Regions from separate parts of the Homo sapiens genome. Here region 1 is linked to region 2. The links are contacts of gene promoters, found by promoter capture Hi-C in blood cells and fetal thymus (Javierre and others, 2016). All regions are on one chromosome and are shown on one strand. The core of a region is centred on a gene start or on the middle of the fragment in contact, and the rest is flanking DNA. Distances in the headings are between cores, read along the strand shown.

Region 1 (2,700 bases), core at 100-2,599, 320 kb after region 2:
GGAGTTCAAGATCAGCCTGATCAACATGGAGAAACACCATCTCTACTAAAAAAAAAAAAAAAAAAAAAAAAAAAAATTACAAAAAATTAGCTGGGCGTGGTGGTGCATGCCTGTAATCCCAGTTACTTGGGAGGCTGAAGCAGGAGAATCACTTGAACCTGGGAGGCAGAGGTTGCAGTGAGCCAAGATCACACCATTGCACTCCAACCTGGGCAACAAGAGTGAAATTCCGTCTCAAAACAACAACAAAGACAACAACAACAGAACTTGAACTTCGTATTCTATGCAAAAAAGGAAAAAACCTAAGAGAAAAAAAAAAGAATACATAAGGAATATGGTTTCTCAATTTAAAAACATCCCCCTTCCAACACCATCTTCCATCCCTAACATTCTTTTTTTTTTTTTTTTTTTTTTTTGAGGTGGAGTCTCACTCTGTCGCCCAGGCTGGAGTGCAATAGCACAAACTTGGCTCCGTGTAACCTCTGCCTCCCAGATTCAAGTGATTCTCCTGCCTCAGCCTCCCAAGTAACTGGGATTACAGGCATGTGCCACCACGCCCCGCTAATTTTTTGTATTTTTAGTAGAGATGGGGTTTCTCTATGTTGACCAGGCTGGTCTTGAACTCCTGATCTCAAGTGATCCGCCTGCCTCAGCCTCCCAAAGTGCTGGGATTATAGGTGTGAGCCACCACACCCGGCCCATCCCTGTCATTCTTAATAAGAAGATAGATTTAGGACCTAATTTTAACTATTCAGAAAGCTTTTAGATGTATGCCTTGCTTAGGTTTCTCTGGCAACTCCCCAAGCCTGCATCAGCTTAGCATCTAATCCATTGAGATCTCCCTATGGGGCTGAGGTCCCTGTCACAGGGTGCCCTAAATACAGAGAAGGCCTAGGTGAAATTTACACATGACACAGTTATGGTCTTGCGTGATCTTTCACTTTTGTCTTTTTGTAAACCTTGATTTATTTTGCTTCCCTTGGCACATTATCTCCCTTTCCAGATATTTTTGCAATGGATATTGTATTCTTCAAGACTTTCTTGATTGCGAATGGGAGAAACTAAATTAGCCAAAGGTGGAATTCATTATAAGTATTCAATAAATGTTTGCTGTTGCTGCTGTCCGGCTGTTGTTATTGAAGGCAGGATTTGCCTGGGTTTTGGGAACAGCTGGATCCAGGAATTTGTACATTCTCAAGAAATTTCTTAATCTCTATCTGCTGCTTCTCTCTGCTCCTGTTTCAATGAAGTCGCTTTCACTTGTGAGACTCAAGTCAAACCAAGTTTAGCAAAAAAAAAAGTAGGGAGGAAATACTGGCTCAGATAACTGAAAACCCCGGAGGCTAGCTTCAGAAACTACTTCATATTGGTGCTAAAACTATGTAAATTACATAATCACCCAGGAAGCGAGGGCGTGCAGCCAGATCTATCGAACCAAATGAACACAGAGTGGGAAAAGAGTCATCCCTGCAAAGGTAAATCTGGGTTTTGTCACCCAAAAAAAGGTAGAAATAACACACACACCCCAGTCTTCTCTCTCTCTATTCTCTTCTCTCTTTCTCTCTCCCACTCTCCCTCTCTCATTTTGCCCTCTCTTGCTTGGAAACTGGCTTCTTCTGGCATTCTGATCTTTATGATAGGAAATAATGTCTGCCAAGAGATCCCAGATCCCAAATTAGCCTGACTCTCTCCATTTCAAGCCCAAAAGACTCAGTGAAGGGTCTGGTATCAGTTATCTACTGCTGCACAATGAATTACCCAGAAATGGTAAGGTTTACAACAACACCATTTGTTATCTCACTTCATGTCTTGCAGGTCAGGAATCCAGGGGCAGCTTAGCTGGGTGGTTATGGTTCAGTGTCTCCCATGCCAGAAATCATCTTATGAAAAAAAAAAATAGAATTATGCGACCCCAAACTCACTATGCCAAAGGGAAAGTTAAGCTTGGGAATTGAGCCACCAATACTGTCTTCCTTTTGTTCCCAAACAGACAGCTGGAATTTCACAACCCAAACCATGAGCTCATTTCCTCTACTCCCTCTTTTCATGTTTATCTTATGTAAAATGTAGATTTACTGAGAGGGAGATAATACATAATTGACTTTTTCCTCTACTCCCTCTTTTCACATGTATAATGTTGATTGATTGATTGACTGATTTTTTTGAAACAGAGTCTTGTTCTGTTGCCCAGGCTGTAGTGCAATGACACAATCTTGGCCCACTGCAACCTCCACCTCCAAGGTTCAAGCGATTCTCCTGCCTCAGCATCCTGAGTAGCTGGGATTACAGCTACACACCAGATAAGTTTTGTATTTTTAGTAAAGACAGGGTTTTGCCATGTTGGCCAGGCTGGTCTGGAACTCCCAGCCTCAAGTGATCCACCTGCCTCAGCCTCCCAAAGTGCTGGGATTACAGGTATGAGCCACTGTGCCCCGCCTAAAATTTGGATTTATTGAGACTAATCAGGGCTTCACAAGAATGTAACCATCTACCTCACTGCATATCTCCCTCCCTTCCTCTCCTGCCTCCCACTCCTTGCTCTTTCTCCTTTAAAAACCAAAGTGCACACAAAGCCCCCTTTGGAGAAAAGCAGAGATCACAGATGCTCCTCCGATTTCTGTTTGTCCAGGGTGCATCCTCAACCTTGGCTAAATAAACCTCTAATGGCCTCAGTCACTTTTTGGTTAACAATCGGAATGC
Region 2 (2,700 bases), core at 201-2,700:
GGGAGGGAGATGATTGACAGGAAGTGTACGGAACAAATGTGGAGGGCTTAACATGTGCTGCTGGGAACACCCACCCACTTTAATCAGTTTCATTCTCTTGTCAACATTAGAAGAAATCTTTAGTCCTATTTTACCGATTGGGCAACCAAGGCCAGAGAGGCTAAGTCATTTACTTTAGGACATACAGCTGGTAATTATGGAGTTAGGATTGCAAGATGCAGCAAAATAAAATAAAGGACATCCAATTATATTTGGGTTCTGAGTAAACAATGTAAAAAAAATAGTGAAAGTATATCCCATGTAAAATTTCAGACTTATACTAAAAATTTAACTGGGCATCCTGTATTTTACCTGGCAACTGTTGAGGAGATTCAAATTCAGTTCTCTTTGTTATTTCCCAGACACCCCTTACTATGGGACATATATAATACTGTAGAATATGTGATCAGTACCAGCAGATACTGGTTGAGTTCAGGCCTCAAGCTTTATATCTGCCATTTTGCTTGAAACCCTTTAATCCTTATATCACCTATCCAGTAGGTATTATCATTGTTCCCATTTTATGGATGAGGAAACTGAGGCTCCTTAAGATGAAATAACTTGGTCACGGTGACACAACCAGAAAGTACTAGAGCCCATGCTTGAACCCAGTTCTGTTTTGCTCAAGAATGGTCTCTCAAAAAAAAAAAAAAAAAAGAAACACAAAAAAACAAAAAACAGTTAAGATTTAACCCATGTACAGAAAAGCACTTGATATGTAAATGTACAGTACAACGACTTGTCACAAACACCTGTGCAGCCACCAGCCAGATCAAGAAAGAAAAGATGTCCAGCTCCCGTTAGATGCCCTGCCCCGTCATGAGAAGGGCTCTTCTGCCAGAGCTTCTCTGGGAATTCTTTGACTACGGGCATTACTGTCCCCATTTTACAGATGGGGACACAAAGGTTCAGAGAGGTGCTGTGACTTGCCCAAGGTCACAGAGATTGGAAAGCAACAGGCTCAGAGAGGGCGAGTGATCACCCAGAGGTTACACAGCTAAAACTTACCACCTGTTAAAACTACAAACTAAATACCAAAAACCGAAACTGCGCTTTATTGGGTGTTTACTATTTGTGAGGCACCGTGCTAAGCTTCTTGGTCGACAACAGTAGCAGCAGCAGCAAGCACTCTGCCATTTGGGGTGCATACTCCCCATGTCAGGCAGCTTGGCACTTTGCGTAATCCGCTCAGTGAATTTTTCCAGCGACCCTATGGTTTGGGCTTGGGTCTCGAACCCATTTTACAGAAGAGGACACTGAGGCCGGAAGGCTGAGGCCCCTGCCCGATATGCTCAGCCGGCCTGGCACCGGCTATGCCCGGCTCCCCGGGAGGCTGCGGGAGGGCCAGGTGGCATGCAAGGAGTTAAGCGGTAGGCAGTGCTGTGGCTCCGTGCGAGGAGCGCGCCGGGCTGAGGCGCGCTGCTGGTGGCGGCGGCGGCAGCGGCGCGGGAGCTAGGGCTGGAGACGTGAAGTCCAGGGGAGCGAGCAAGGCAGCCAAGGAGGCAGCGGCGAGGCAGCGAGAGAGAGCCAGGCGGCCGGAGCTCCGCGCCGAGCCGCAGCCGGTGCCCTGCGCGCACCGGGCCCGGGCATCTCCATCCCCGGGGCGGGTGCCCGCGCGGGGCCTCGCCGCGGCTCGGGGCACCCGCAGTGCCGCCCGCCCGAGCGCCAGGCTCACAGGAGCCCGGCTTTCACTTCCTCTCGCTTCCGCCCGCCTCCCTGGCTCGCCGGCTGGCGTCGCCACCGCCTCCTCGTCCCCGGCCACCGCTGTCGCCGCTGCTGCAATTCAAGGCGCACACTATCCCACTTTCCCGCTGGAGGCGCAGAGGATGCCCCTTGAGCCAGACCTGGAGAAATAGCCCCAGGGCCCGGCAGGAGGAGCCTTGGTGGCGAGAAAGGAAATCCAGGCTCCCCTTTCCTTAAAGCCACTGCAGCAGCTGGGAAGGCGCCCACAGAGCGGGCGCGCCAAGCGGGACGCGGGAGTCGCAGAGAGGGACCCCGGGCGCCTGCTGAGCTCAGCTGGCAGAGTTTGCAAGTGGCGGAGACCCTTCAGGTAAGGACTCAGGTGCCTGGACCTGGGAAGAGGGCTCCAGGAGGGAGCCGGGCGCGGAGCTGGTGCGAAATGTCTTCTGCCCCTAGATCTGGGCTTCGCTTTCCAGACGCTTCCCCGCAGGTTGGGGGCTCGTCGTCCAGAGCCCGGCGAGTGAGGAACCCAGAGTGGTGACAGCCCAGCTCTGCGTAGATGACAAACTTTCTCTCCTCTGGCAGAGGGTGGGACATTCCGGCTCATCCAGGCATCCTTCCTCTGGGCATTCCTGTGCCCCCTACAGGCATGCATTCAAGGGCTTCTCCCGCGGAGGTGGGCCAGCGGGGAGGCAGTGGGCCCCGTAAATTTGATTTATGAATCACCCTCTTTCTGGCCAGTGCAGAGTTCCAAGGGAGAGGGAGCTAGTCATATTTCCAAGTTGGCTGTAGAAGATGTTTCTTGGGGGTGATACTCTGGTGAATAAGGCTGCCTGTCATCTGATGCCAACAGCCAGAGCTGCCCAGGCAATGGGCTTTGTGTAGGGTGCCTTGCAGATTTGCTTATGTCCATTCTGGGGTGTGTGTGTGTGTGTGTGTGTGTGTGTGTGTGTGTGTGTGTGTGTAAAGAGAGAGAGGGAA

The links. Contacts are between HindIII fragments. The CHiCAGO score rates a contact against its expected background, and 5 or more counts as called.
Region 1: a contact is called between a fragment that was not itself captured here and the fragment with the promoter of WSCD2 in region 2, in 1 of 17 cell types (endothelial precursors). The highest score is 7.1, in endothelial precursors.

What each region holds. Positions count from the first base shown.
Region 1 is chr12:108,445,641-108,448,340 of GRCh38, forward strand. No RefSeq gene overlaps it. Among named protein-coding and RNA genes, the nearest start is that of LINC01498, 27 kb to the right of the region's middle. The HindIII fragment of the contact is 1,184 bases long and covers 758-1,941 here.
Region 2 is chr12:108,127,838-108,130,537 of GRCh38, forward strand. It overlaps WSCD2 (WSC domain containing 2), which reads left to right and starts at 1,451. Exons shown (of 9, transcript NM_014653.4): 1 at 1,451-2,089. RefSeq lists a silencer at 1,672-1,761. The HindIII fragment of the contact is 4,828 bases long and covers 1,130-2,700 here.